Regions from separate parts of the Homo sapiens genome. Here region 2 is linked to region 1. Evidence: promoter capture Hi-C in human tissues and cell types (Jung and others, 2019). All regions are on one chromosome and are shown on one strand. The core of a region is centred on a gene start or on the middle of the fragment in contact, and the rest is flanking DNA. Distances in the headings are between cores, read along the strand shown.

Region 1 (7,764 bases), core at 3,788-6,287:
GCCAAGTCTAGAGGTATTATAAGACATCACCTCTGGTATGTATAGAATTTTACCCTTCCTCCATGGAGAGAATGTCCACAGCTTTACAATTTCACAACTAGGGGGCACTACTCCCGCATTTCTTTCTCTAAAACAGAAATTCCAAATTATTACCATACATAGAAACTCATTATTTTTTAGACCTCTTCTTAGACCTTTTTGAGATTAGTCAGGCAAGTTTTGACAGAATTTCATTTTTAGTATTAACCACGGCAGAAGATTAGGATGAGGTGTGGTGTCTAAAATACTCCTCAGCCTAGAAAGTTCTCTGGGAACTTCAGAGGATCCTTAAAAACTCTGGACTGTTAAGTCCCAGAGCATGCTCCATCCCAGCCTGGCCCTGTTCTTTGGGTAAAAGACTAAGATAAGTGGGAACAGACTAAGGAAGAGAGTATCTGAGGTCACTCTGGAAACTCAAAATTCTTCGGGTTAGTTAAAAAAACAAAAACAAAAACTGGAGCAAGCTTTTCCATAGTATAATTCACCTTCTAATGTGCCTTTGAGCCTATTCATTTAACTTGGCCTCTATGGACTAAAATAGGTCATAGGACATCTCACAAATTTTTATGAAGGCATTTTGTAGCCTGGCATAGGTACCGAGAGAAAAAGAAACTTAAAAGTAATCAATGAGACAAATATTATATATTCATAATATATATGTATATATACATGCACAAATACACACACATACAATTTCACAACTAACTCATCTTTACCTTGTACAGGGTGGACTTGATTGTCCAGGACACCCAGAGGTCCTGTTGCCCCCTGGTGGTCGCTGAATTATCACAGATCTTGATACCTAAAAATCCTCTGGGTGAAGAGCTTAAAAATTACAACATGAGAAACCATGGAAGCATGTAGAAGTAATTTGAATAATTTAAGCCAGTTCATCCTATCAATCCTGGTGATTTATGGCAAAATGAACTGGAAGTAATGGAAGAAAAGAGCCTCCCCATGCAAAATCAAGTTTGAAAAAAAAAAAATCCACTAAGAGCACCGAACATGTGCTACTTGATTTCAGGTATAAAGTGCTACATTTTCCTAGCTACATTTTGTTATTTTAATATTACTTAAAAAAAGAGTAATTTGACTGAACACTTTTTAATATTTTAGGTGATTAGAAAATTTCAGTGGTACCTCAGCAATAATATTCAAGTGGACTCATAATTTAGATATAAATTATATTTTTATTTGTTAAACTGTCTGAAATTAACTTGGAAATTGTACTTAAAGAATTATAATTGTAATCTTCTGAACTTTATTTATCTGACTTCACAAAAGTGTGTGAAATTTTACAAAGGCACAAAATAAATTCTTGACTTATGGTTTGATTTCTGACCTCTGACTTCCTATACTTTCAGCTAAATCTGAGCTTAGAAAAATTCATGAATTAATATGTTTTTAATGAGTTTAGGTTATGCACATTTTTTACATTAGACTGCAAATAAATATTTTATATACACTACATAAATCATGTTAATGTAAATATGTAAATGATTTTCCTACACAGTGGAAAGATTGTTTATATTTTGACTGAAATCACAGAATCCAATTTTCTGTAATATCTGTTAACTAAGACATAATGCTTCTTTTCTGCTTATAATCAATTTCTTCTGCACAGTACCTTTTCTAATTCAGTTTAAATTACCCTTTTTCTGTGATGAACTTGCATTTTCACATTTGCCAGCTGTGAATGCATTTTGATGATAAGTACAAAAGTAGTGGGTTCAGAAACAGCCCTTTGATTTCATTGTTGTTAACTATTTAGTTTGACAGTCTTGGATTTGTAACATACTGAAATCTCCAATTGTCCCTTTGCCCTCGAATGGCCTGAATACTAGACACACACAGTATAACCTTTTCTTTCATTTGAAAATTCATAGAACTTATTCCCTGAAGTCATTATAATTTACTCCTATTTCTCTCTTAAAATCAGAGAATATTTCCCAGAGTTAAACAGTGAGGTAAATATTAGTATTGTAACAAGTTAAAACAAAATAGCAGGTGTACCCTCATTTAGAATGTGTCTTGAATTTGGACATTTCCCTACATGTACAGTCATGTGATTATTGGTAATTATACAAATAAATAATACAAAATGCATTAAAATTGGGTATATCTCCTTAGTATCTGAAGAGAGGCGTTTTTCATCTTTCCACTATACATTTATTATAGATGTTGCAACAGAGGGGATATAAAATTGAAATATTAAGGTCTTAGTCTCTGTTTCCATTTACTTAAAATTCACTAAATATATGTGGACGACGCTATCAACTTAGTTGTACAATGAATGCATAAAAATGTAAAACTAGTTTTCAGAATTATTGCTTTGGCGCACAGGTGTTGGTCTCATACACTATTTGGTATTGCTCAGGAAGACAAGTTCCTTTTGAATTCACTTTATATACAAACACATCGCATTATTAAAAATAATTGATTAGAAATAATATGCTTAAATCATAAAATGAAGCTAAAATAAATTGTAATGGTGTGAGGAAGTTCACCATTATGTTATTTTAAAATGAGAAAGTTTTGTATACTGATAATTTTTATGTCAGTGGCTTCATGTACAAATAGGTCTATATGCTTTATCATTAGTCAAATACAGTCGAGTGTAAATTTATATATTAATCATATACTGTATGCTGAACACTGTCTTCTTGACTGTCATTTATTTTTATTTAAATGCTCCGAATTCTTTGTCAATATATCTAGATACTACAAAAGAAAGAAGAGAAGTTTGAAAAACCTAAAAATCAGTATCACTGTGCAGCTATGCAGGGAGAACTGTCAGCAGCCTGGCACATGTGCATTTAATGTGAAGCTTCTTGTCTCTAAAAATAAGAGTAAAGTTACACATGCCCCTGTGTCTGACAGAGAGAAGGGACACAAAAAGAGGACTCACTATACCACCTACACTCATCAGAGGAGTGAAGGATGTTACTTCTTTGGTTTCCTGGTTTTAATGGAAAAGTATTTGTATTCACATCATTGAGTATTAGTCATTCAATAGATGAAAGGAATATTTTAAACTTTAAAGGCCACCTTGGTGTCATTTTAAGAAGTGGGGATGAGACCCTGGGGAAAGTGTTGAAATCCTGGAGAATTCGTTTTAACTATTAGAAGTGGTTTAATATTTGTAAGTTTGTAGTTCTGTGAGTTCTAAAGACTAAGTGCAGGGATTTATGTTTTTAACTCTTATGTTTTAGTTTACAAGTTTCATCCTTAAATCATCTATTTGTGTAAATAAAGCTTCATCTCCTCTATAACAAGTGTGTTCTCCCCATATTTTTTTTTGTCTCTTTCTAAGGTTAATCTATTACGCATTTACATTTTCTATGCATCCTTTAAGGGACACTGAAGATGCTTTTTGATACACTTTCTAAAATATTAAATAGGCATAATGGCTAGGAATATGTAACATTGAAGAAATGTTTCAGAAACTACAGAATCAAAGAGGTTTAAAGAATAAATTTCATATCTCTCTTCCATGTTATTTTATTAGGCAAATAAAAACTACAGGAGACAATTTAACATAAAATACAAATAAATATCTGGGGGTTGTCATCTTAGAGAACTCCCTACTATAAAAAGCAGAAACAACTCAATTTACTTTATATTTCCAGATAGAAAGGTTGGAAAAAGTTTGGAGCCTTATGTGAGATCAAACTTTGGATCTATCGGAAATAAAAGGAAATCATAAATGACTGAGAAATATTTTTAAAGGAAGAAATTATAGGACAAAAAAAGAAATTCATCTTAAACATGTGATCAAGTTACTCTGTGTGACCTTTGAAATTGAAGATTTGGCAATTAAAATTTTAAAGTTCTTCCTCTTATTACCTACCTCTTGAATACAAAGTGTCCGAAACTGCCTAATGGAAAACAGATTTCTCTACGCAGCCTTCCTTGCCGTTCGGGTTGAATGAATTCAACTGGAGATATTGGTTATGACTTTTTTTATTCTTAGTTTCTCTTTGAAAGATAAGCATTGAATAATTCCTGAAAATGGTAAATACTTGCGAAGAGAAAGGTCTTGCTTTATGAATTTAATACGTAGTGGCATTCTTTAAAATTCAGTGTAATTTATGCAGCGAAATGGAAAACTATCAAAGTGGAGGCAATCCAAGGAAAACCTTAGAAAATGATAAACGCGTAAAAAAACGATACGCAACCATCAGAAGGTTCTCTCCTAATGTCTCACTTCGCTCAACAAACTATGGTGAAAAGACAGGGCGGAGGAGAAGGGGCGCTTAAAACAAAAGACTTCCTTTCCCACTCCCTTTTCCTCTGTTTCTTTTGCCAGAGCTTGTTGCAAACTCTTGGAAACATTGTTTAAACATAATACACTTGGTTACTTTATTCTTTCAGGGATTGTGGTGGGTGGTACCTAAAACTGACGGCTCTTGGAGTAACAGAAAAAGAGAAGTAGAAACTTTTCAAAAAGGCAAAAAACAAAGTTACCCAGCCCGCGGAGGTTCTAACAACAAAAAAGTAAAACACACTTTACTTAAAGGCACAGCTCATTTCACTGTCCGGGCTCCGTGCTTGGTAGCTGAGAGAAGGCTTGCTTCGCCTCTGGTTTCTAAAAGATCGCGCGGAGTACAGCTATAGAAAAGAGTGTAAGTTGGGAGCGTTATTCTCGGATTTATTCTGCTACGCGAAAGCTGCGGTTGCTAAAAGCAGAGCGTCCAAAGCAGCACACACCTCGGCTACCATCCTCGTTCTCCTCTGAACATCCAGCGCGAGCTCAGAACCTGGAGGGAATCCTGGACCAGCAACCTGACTCCGCTCGGCACCGATTGGCTCCTGCCTCGGACCCCGCCCCCGTGGCCGGGGCGGCCATTTCGCCGGGACCCGCCCCTTGGCCCTGGGAATCGCCTCCTGGCAGGCCGGCTGTGCCTGCCACTCAGCCCGAGTGGCGGAGGCTCTCAGCTCGGAGCCCCGCCCCCTCCCCCCCTAATTGATATTATTGGAGTGTGGAGCAAGCGGCCGGTCTGCAGTCGGAGACTTGCAGGCAGCAAACACGGTGCGAGCGAACAGGAGTGGGGGGGAAATTAAAAAAAGCTAAACGTGGAGCAGCCGATCGGGGACCGAGAAGGGGAATCGATGCAAGGAGCACAATAAAACAAAAGCTACTTCGGAACAAACAGCATTTAAAAATCCACGACTCAAGATAACTGAAACCTAAAATAAAACCTGCTCATGCACCATGGTTTTTCAAACTCGGTACCCTTCATGGATTATTTTATGCTACATCTGGCTGCTCCGCTTTGCACACACAGGGGAGGCGCAGGCTGCGAAGGAAGGTAAGGTGATGGGAAAGCAAAGTTTGTTCTGACTTATTTATTTAGATGTCTACCTGCACAAGCCAGCTCGTCCGCGGCGCTGCCGGCCGCGCCTCCGGCGCCGGGCGACCCTCCCCCGCCGGCTCCCCGCCCCCTCACCGCTGAGGCCGCTCCTGGCGGACCAGCGAGCGCGAACCAGGGCTGTTCCGAGCCGCCTACAGCCCTGTGCCCGGAGCCGTCCATCCGACGGGTGCGGGATTTCTGGCGCGGGCAGTCTGGAGGGCGTGAGCAGCAACGGGGGTGGGGTGGGGTTGGAGGAACTGCCGGCGAGCTTATTTCTTAGTACCTCAGGCGGGTCACATCTCTCTCTAGCTCGGTCTTCCTTGTCTCCTTATTCGCCTTCTGTGGGAGCTGCGGCCAGAGTTGGGTTGGAGACTGGGAAATGCAGCCCCTACCGTCTCCGCCAGCCCGCCGGCGAGTGGCGGGAGCCCGGAGCCTTCCCAGAGGGACCGAGACTTCGATGAGCTCGGAAAGCTCGGGTTACTAATGAAGTGCTCACTGCGTCGGAGGCGGCGGCGCGGTCCTGCGGTTGGCGCTCGGCCGCCAGCACGGAACAATAACGCCGCGGAGGTGAAGCGCGGCGTGCGGCGCGCGACCCGAGGGCCGGGGATGTCTCCATTCAGCGCGCGCTGCGCGTCGGGCCCAGCGGTCATGGGGGCAGCGGCAGCCCAGCGGGCTTGGTCGGGCCGTGGAGGCAGGGGGCGGGCTGGAGCTGTGCAATTTGTAAGGATGCCGCCTGGGCGACTCAAAGTCCCCAATTATTTGCCCCATAGTGCAGCAATTGAGGAATCCGAGTGCCCAATCCTTGCCAAAGACCTGAACCCTGAGGGTTGGTTCTGGTAGGAGAAGGCAGGTTTTATTTGGCAAGCTGTTACAGATACGCCTGTATATGGTTATGTTTTCCTTCTTTGAACCTTTGACAGAAGGTAAAATACCTTTCGGTGCCTGTAGTTGGAGCTGGGGAAAAATAAACCCTGTCAATGGAAGTCTCTTGCTTTTGAGCAGTGTCACAATCCCATCCCCAACCCCCCTCATCCCGTCGCCCCCCTGGTCTTTCAGGCTGTGTATCTAAGTTTCATTTTTCGATCTGTTAAAAGCAGAAGAGAAATAATTACTTATTCCTGATGTGTAGAGGGAGAGGAATCTGTTATGAAATTTAGGTCATGGTGGTTATCGGGCGGGGTGTTGAGGGGACTTACATATAGGTCCTTGATTCATCTATTTCTGAAAACTTAGTGCACCTTTTCTTTATTCTCATCGTGCACTCCTCTTAGTTCGCTCAAGCCCCCCTCAAACCCGGCGCCAAATTCTAGTCCTTCTTTCAGCCTGACCTTCTGACCCCACTTTCCACATCTGCAACCTGTATAGATGCTGAACCCATTCAGAGAACCCCGTGCCTCCAAGCTGGCGGTTACGCGTTTGCAGAAGGACGGACATCTGCTAGAAACGCACGCTCATCCCCTCCAAAACCACATTTCTACTCCCCTGACGTTAGCGATCAGAAACCTTCAGCCCTGGCATACTGTGATTCCTCTGGAATAGCGGACCAGAGGAAAAGTTTGCACCGCCGCGGCGAAACCCCGCGCGCGAACACACGCAGACTCGGGCTGGAGTTTGGGCTATAAATAACTGCATCACTAGGGGGAGAGGTTCCTGCAGCCAGAATGTCTAGTTCTCTTTGCTCTTCTGGGTGCAAGCTACGTGAAGAGGATTCTGATTCTAAGAGCCTGAATTCTTTAGATGCAGAAGTGTGATGTATAAAAGGCGCGGGGGTGATGGGAGGGAGGGTGGTGATCTGTGGCTGGCGGGCGGCGAGTGCGCCCGGCTTCTAGGCGGCGACGCCTCTAGGGCGCAGCGGCGACCAAGAGCTGGCGTTCTAGGAGTTCACAAGCCCCGAGGCGGCCCGCAGTACCCAAGGGCTAGCGCTGGGAACCGCTTGAAGCAGGTGCCGGGCCTCCTGGGGCATTTGGGGGTGGCTAGAGGAAGATAAGAAACCCCCTTCCCTCACTTTCCTTGTGCACGTTCTCTCGGGTTGGTCAGTTATCATCGCTACAGGGAGCGCGTGTCAGAGTCTGACGCTTGAAGGCAAAGTGCAGCTGCTTACTTTTTCTCTCCGTAAATGCCGCCGCCGCCGCCGCCTCTTCCTCAGAGGAGATGCTTCCCGAAAGCCACTCTCCTCTTCCCGAAAGCCACTCTCCTCTTCCCGACTCCTTCTCGAGCGAGGGCGCCACCGGCTCCCTGGAGTGCCCAGGTCTGGCAGAGGCGTAATGGATGCTTGGCGCGGCTGGCGCGCCCGTCTGGCAGCCCCCGCCCCGCCCCTCCGACGGCCCCGCCCCAGCCCCGGGACGCCAGCCTTTGCCCGCGCGGTCGTTGC
Region 2 (7,764 bases), core at 1,721-4,220, 47 kb after region 1:
TGTAAGTTATATTTTCACAGAACTCTATTCTTTTTTCATTACTTTTTTGATTAGTGAATTTTTTATCTATACTAGCTGCCTATTAGGAGTTTGTTTTTTTTTTTTAATTCAGGCTTCCAAATCTTGGAGTTTTTTTTTTGTTTGTTTTTTGAGTCAAGGTCTCTCTGCTAGGCTCACTGTAACTTCTGTGTCCCAGGCCTAAGTGATCCTCCTGCATCAGCCTCTCGAGTAGCTGGAACTACAGGCACATGCCATCTCACTATTTTTTTTATTTTTATTTTTTTTTAGAAAGAGAGTTTCACCATGTTTCCTGGGCTTTTCTCAAACTCCTGAGCTCAAGCCATCTGCCCACCTTGGCCTCCCAAAGTGCTGGGATTACAGGTGTGAGCCACCATGCTTGGCCTCTCTGAGTTTTTATCAGTCTTGTTAAGTTGTTTTTGTTGTTTGGTTTTACATTTCAAGTTACACATATTGGAACATGAGTTTGGCATACTTTCTTCCATTATAGAGTGGAGGGTAGAGTTGTACTTCTACCAAAATAACATGCTAAACAAAGTAAGTTTATGGAGATCAATAACAGAAGGAAAACAGGCTTATTTTCAAATGAATATTTTTTAATGATATTATTTTCAAGGATCCAGTATACATTGTTTCCTTACTTGTTGAAATTATTAAAGGAATTTCTAAGTTGAAACTTTCAGACATTTAGTTACATGGTTTATATAATGAGGCAGTTAAACAGATTGCAAAAATGTTAAAAACTATTCAGAAATTTTTGTATGTTATGGAGGAAGCAATATTATCTTTTTTGAAATGATATTCTTCACTATGTTATAATAATTATGATGATAATATTAACTGATATGTGTAAATTACTTACTGTGTGCCAAACACTCTTACATTGTTCTTTAATTTAATCCTCATAGTGATCCTATTAGGAAAGTGTCACTATTATTCCTGTATTACAGATGAGGAAACCAAGGCAGTTTCCTATTGGTGATCTAATGATGGTTCTAGCACTTGAACTCAGGAGTTGAACTCAAGGTGTTTGGCTCCATAGCCAGCAGTCTGAGCGACTAGTCTCCACTGTTGTTTAATTATTTTCTTAACCATCCATATGCATTCACAGATACAAGTTTCTTCTATTTTGGCAAATAAAATTACAATGACTATAAATATACATAAAACCACAACATATTTGGCAGTGTCAAAGGTTCGCTAGTAAGGCATGACACTTAAAAGGAAGACTTAAAATGATTAAACTGTGAAATATAAAGGTAATATATTTGACACTTCTACATTTAGTTAGAAAAATATGATCTTGCAAGATTTTAGTGAGGGTATAATGTACTCAGCATGAGACAGATAGATGATAGAGAGATAGAAACATAGAGTATTTGTCTATGTATATAAATTCATATCTCTATTCTTGTCTGTAGTGCTAAAATAGAGGAGTGGGAAGACAGATGAGGGACTCAATTACCTAACCCAGAGGTCAGATATGGCTTCACTAAGGAGGTGACGTGTTTTAGAAATTTAGCAAATATACCTGTAATGACTCTCTTCAGGGAGTTAGCACTACATAGTGTACTCCTTCATAGAACTATCTCTAGATTTGACCTGAATATTTTTTTTAAAAGCTCTGGTTAAATACCTCTAGTGCGACTTCATGTTATTTTGAGGCTCTCTGTTGGTTAGGAATTTAATATTCTGTTACATTCTTAATAATTCTTCTGACATGTTATACATTTTTATTTATGTAGTGTTATGCTTTATTTCTCTGAAAATTAATTGATGTATTTATGAAACATGAGGTATATTGTGAAAGCCTTTATTCCTTTATGTACTAGTATATGTCAAATGAGCTTTGAAGTGATTTTTTTTTTACCTTTTGTAAAACATGTAACAATATACTAATCCATTAGTAAATGGCACACTTATGTTAAGCTTGTGATTATTCGAAAGAGAATACACCAGAAAAAAAAAAGAAGAGTGACAAATAGAGCATAAACCTTTGTCATTCTACAGAAATAGCTTTGGAGATATTGGTGAATCATGAGAGCTAAAAATACTACTAATCTTGATACCATCATCTAAGCTCTCTAATTAAACTGTCTCACATAATACTGTGTGATAATCCTATATGGTAAACAACTGGCAAAACCATGAAATATCAGATTCCAGAGAATCATGAGTAGAAGTCAATGGCAAGAGTGAGAACCTATTCCATACAATTTTCACAAATGATATTGAATATAAGAAATGCAGTGTAAAAGTACTAAATTACACGCAAGTTTCCCTGACCTGCCTTATGGAATTCACCATTTCTAATAAGTCAGGGCTTCTGTTCTTGACTCAAGTCTTTTTTTCACATGACCAAGTTATTGAACAATTACTTTACACAGAACATTTAGATTTTAAGAAAAGGTCAAGAATTATTGCTCTTGGAGATGTCTGTTAACTTTGTAATTTTTCCCTTTTGATATTGAAGCAATAAAGTAGAATTTGTGATTATTTTAATAAAATTAAATATAATATAAAGAGAACTAGTGGTTTCTAGCTGTTAATTCCAAAGATATATTACTATAATTATTGACTATATGTCAAAATACAAATATATCTTCTGTTATATAATCATGTATCACAATTAAATATTTGAACAGAAAATGTATGTATTTTAATCCAGACAACTATTTTGACAATTGTTGAAGACATATGCACTCTAAATTGTAAGAGTATATACCATAATTCAGAAGGAAGTACTACATTTTCAGAATTCTCCATCTCCTTTTAGTATAATTTTGTTTAAAAAGGTAGTGGAAGAAGTAATTTACTAAAAAATTAATGAAATCATGATATAGATATTAAGGCAAAGCCAATGTATAAACTTAACTATTATATTTTTCATGTGAAAAGTGGAATGTTTAACCATATTGAATAGCACTTAGGCTGTTATAGCTGCAAGCACAATGCTTTTGAGTTAGTCACTCAACACATTTCATCAACAAACAGAAAACTATTTAAAAGTTTGGACAACCTATGCCATTTGAGGCCATAACTTAGAAGGAAAATTTATAAAGCAAAGATGTAATGGAAATAACAATCAAAAAGCAATGCATCTTATCTTGCTAAAAATTGTTTTCTCTAAATTCTAACTTTGTGAAATATTTTATAGCATTCAACACTAATATATGATAAGAGTAGGATTTCAGTCTGGGAAAATCAAAAACCTTAAAACCTTATTGATTCTATGTCTAGACATTATCTTTTAACATCTGTAGCATGAGAAGATTCACTTTCTAGCCTCTTATTTAAACAGCTGCTAACTTAAACTGCAAAATAATCATGTTGAAAAATGGCAAAAGGAATAGTCATACTCTTATAAGGTTGTAACTCCCCTTTCTGTAATTGCTGATATTTGGCAAGTATTACCCTTTGTTTTGCTGTGCCATAGGTAGTATGCTCATTATGGTGAAATGAAATGAAAGCATAAAGGAAATGTTCAAGCATCAGATACCTCCTTTATCATTGGTGTTCATCCACTCACAAATGTTTATTTAATAAGTTCTTATACAATGCTTGATTATTCCTAAGTAATATAAAGATAAATCATTCACCCCTTAGCTTTTAGATATTCTGTTTATTTAGATGCATGTAAAACTAGTTTTCTTATCAGTCTTTTGAACATTTACCCAAAAGGGTAATTTAACTTAAATGTTGAAAAAAAATTGATTCTAAAAATATTGTCTGATCCATTCCACCTGGTATCCATCTGTGACAGTATGTCTTCACAATCTGTCATCTGCTTTTATCCTGTATGTTCTTAACCACTTCATTTGGGTGCAATCTTTGAACTGATTTTTTCCCTTCCTTATTTCTGGTGTTCTGGTTAGTATAAATTGACATTTTCAAATCTTTAGTCAGGTTTTGGGATGATGTATACTAATTAATTAGGAAGATGTAATGTACCATCAGCTCTCTATACATATTCGTTTATAGCACCATTAATATAGAGGTAGAATCAATCATTATATTCTAGTTTTTCATTTCCTTTGTAAGAACTTTCAATGCATTTTTATTTGGAAATGTATACATTTACTTTATCATCATTTCCTATGAGAAAACAGTACTTCACTTCTAAATTTCTAAATTCTTTCAGATTGAAATATATGCACACATAGGTGTTGAGTCTAATACTTTGTAGCGCTTGTCATTACAGTTGCCTCTCAGTATCAAGGGGGGTGAGTTACAGGATCCCCTTGGATACCAGCATCCACAGATGCTTAAGTCCCTTATATAAAATGGCATATATAGTATTTGCATATAAACTATACACATCCTTTTCTATACTTTAAATAATCTCTAGATTACTTACAATATCTAATACAGTGTAAATTCTAGGCATGTAGTTGTTATATTGTGTTGTTTTTAAAATTTGTATTTTTGTATTGTTGCATTATTTTTTGTTATTTTTTTCCCCAAATATTTATTATCCATGGTTGGGTTAATCCATGGATGCAGAACCAGTGGATACAGAGAGCTGACTGTGCTTTTTCTTTTTTTTTTTCTTTTTGAGACAGAGTCTCACTCTGTCGCCCAGGCTGGAGTGCAGTGGCGCGATCTGGGCTCACTGCAAGCTCCGCCTCCTGGGTTCACAGCATTCTCCTGCCTCAGCCTCCTGAGTAGCTGGGACTACAGGCTCCCGCCGCCACGGCTGGCTAAGTTTTTTTTTCTTTTTTTTTTTTTTGTATTTTTCGTAGAGACAGGGTTTCACCATGTTAGCCAGGATGGTCTCGATCTCCTGACCTCGTGATCCACCTGCCTCGGCTTCCCAAAGTGCTGGGATTACAGGCGTGAGCCACCGCGCCTTGCCGACTGTGCTTTTTCTGAGTTCACTCTGAATATTAAGGTACTTTACAGTTTTGCCTAGTTTATAACTTGAAAAATGTAAAGTAGTATATGTACATATAAATAAGTTTTCACCTTTAGTTTTGTCGTGCCCCTCCATAGGTCATAAATCAAATGAATTAGTATGTCTTAGAGACATATGAAATGTAATAGGAAACCAAATGTACAGAAGGGTGTGTGAATATATATGTGTATTTATGCTCATAATAAAAGAAAACAAAAGATGTAATATCCCATTGTTTTTAAATCAGTGTTTTTGCTTACTCTACAATTGTTTAAATATTTAAAAGAGAGCCAGTAAGAAATAAATTGAAATTATTTTTCATAAGAATCAGTGATATTTCTGTTTTCCAATAGAAATGTTAATTATTAGAATTTATTTTAATAGTGGCCTGTCTAGTTCCAAATTACCAACAGAAATGAAAGTATTGTGTACTTACTGTATGGCAATTCTCAGTAATCTAAAACTAGAATATTACTTTTTTGGGTTTGGGTAGGTCATGTATTTAAAGAGAGATAGTTTCTTAAATAATCCAGAGCAGGAAAAAACTATTATTCTTTAAATTTTTGCCTTGGAAACAACCCTGAAATGATAGTTTTGTTATAACTTATAATTCTCAGCTTAGTTGTTTTCCTTCTCTTGGACCTTTTCTCCCCTGTGTTCAGAGAAGGTATTCAATTATATGCTCCTAAAATGCTTTTAATTTCATTCGTATACTTTTTGTTGTTACTGTATTAAGGATGCTTACAGAATCATGTTAAAATCATCTAAAGTATTAGTCTAAACATGGCTGTGCAGTTGTCTCCCTGTGCAGCATAACAGGGAGACTTAAAGACTGAAAGCCAGTGAAGTGTCTCTCCTTACTTCTGTAGCCAAGGCTGCACTCCCCTCTACTAAGAATGTGCCACATCAGTCCTATTGCTCTGATGACTATGAAAAATTTACTAAGTGGTGTCAGTGAATTAACCTTTGGTAAGTGGGATGGTGTCACCAGATGCATAATGCTGGAGGATGGATAAGATTCCTTCATTCGTCCATTCAATAAACATAGATTAACCTCCTGCTATGTGCTGGACATTGTGCTAGGCTTTGGGAATCCATGGATACATATATTATAATCCCTGAACTTGAGGGTTTCACGGTGAGTTAGAGGACACATGCATAAAGAAATAATTATGGCAGTGTGAATGACATAGTGGTGGTATGTTGTATTGAGTGAAACTGTTCTCCTAAGTAGCCTTAAGAGCTCAGAAAAGATGGAGGAGGCAAAGCGTTTAACTGATTCATGAAGAATGGATGTTGCTCTTTTAAAAAGAATGAAACTATATAGGGTTATTCTTTACATATGTAGCTACTTTTTCTGCAGAGTTTGTTTTAACAGACAATTAAATGATATTCTGCTACTGGCTACGTTGTCTTTTTGCAAAATTCTATGGATGCAAAGTTAGTAGGATAATGGATACAAAGAGATGTGGCAAATTATTTATTTGGGTGTGGAGGTAAAAATCAGCAATTAATTAACTGGTTTTCTCTTATGAAGGAGTAGAAAGTATGAAAATACAGTCAGAATTCTTACTAGTTTATTTCTAAAAATTCTATGTATCTTGCAAGTGTGTGTGTGTGTGTGTGTGTGTGTGTGTGTGTGTGGCCTTTATTTTTCTTTTCTTTTCTTTCTTTTTCTTTGCCAGCTCTTTTTTTTAAAAAAGAAAGGATTGAGCTCAACAACATTTTTCTAAGCATTTATTCTGCTTGTTATTTTCTTTTATTTCTAAGAATTAAGGATTGAGTGAATACACTCATTGTCCTGACGCATCCATTTAATATGTCATGCTTCAGGGTAAACTGATTTCTTTATGATCTCCAGAAAATTTTCCACTGACATAACAGAAATGATTATTTACCTCCCCACATGTTCAAACTGCCTTAACCTGCTTTAGGGTTATTTGCTTCACAAGACTTAGTATTGATCCACATTTTATAACTGACTAAATAAGGAAACAGAGTCTTCACCAAACAGCTAGAACGATTGCTTTAACTGACAATTTTGCTTTAATCATTTTTAAAATTATCGCAGAAAACTGATAGTGAAAAGCCCATGTCTTGGACTGCTTTGCATAGAAGTATAGCTCTTTATTTTAGGAAATTAAGATGAAATTAATTATCTTCTTTTTAGCTGTGGATTTTTCAAGGCTTGCACCACAAATATATAGATTTAAATATATTATGGGAGAAAAATTAATTATTGACAAGCCACTCACAAGATAGTCCAATTTTAATCCTTCGAATTGGACTAAAGTTGCAATTTTTATTAACTTGAAGTAACCTGACCTTATAGAATATTCTTATATTGCCAGATCCTTCATTAGCCTCATTGAAAATCAAGCCAATAACTGCCACAGATAGCTCTCCAGTTTATATATAAAATTGGTCAATAATGTGTCCCTGCACACTTCCTGCATGTCTACCTGTGCTGAGTAGTTTTCTCATTTCACATTGATGAAATGCTACAGCTTTGGCAGGAAAGGTGACTTCAGAATTTATAGTCACCTCTGAAATAGGAGATAATTGGGCATGCTGTAAAAGATACAAGTTAAGGTACAATGTTTATAATTTATATAAGTAATTTACTATTAAATATCAGAAATTTAATTAGCTTAAGCTCATAATCAACTGATTATCCATACCATTTGAAGCCAGTGGTCAAAAGGATAATGTAGTGTTTAGAGATCCTCATTATTTGTCTTTTTAGCTGATATACCTTTTTGGTACATTGCCTGCCTGACACAGTAATAGATACACAGTATGCAAATAATAATAATTTGGTCGAGGAATGAATACTGGGCTATATTTGGTTA

Evidence for each region. The method cuts DNA at HindIII sites, captures the fragments that hold promoters and counts their contacts. A contact is called where the count stands out against the background at its distance.
Region 2: a contact is called between a fragment that was not itself captured here and the fragment with the promoter of EPHA7 in region 1, in 1 of the 25 tissues and cell types used here (mesendoderm cells).

What each region holds. Positions count from the first base shown.
Region 1 is chr6:93,416,832-93,424,595 of GRCh38, reverse strand. It overlaps EPHA7 (EPH receptor A7), which reads left to right and starts at 5,037. Exons shown (of 17, transcript NM_004440.4): 1 at 5,037-5,351. The coding sequence starts at 5,255. RefSeq lists a silencer at 4,790-4,989. The HindIII fragment of the contact is 11,378 bases long and covers 3,081-7,764 here.
Region 2 is chr6:93,367,973-93,375,736 of GRCh38, reverse strand. The region is part of intron 3 of EPHA7 (EPH receptor A7); the gene reads left to right. Among named protein-coding and RNA genes, the nearest start is that of EPHA7, 48 kb to the left of the region's middle. The HindIII fragment of the contact is 5,793 bases long and covers 74-5,866 here.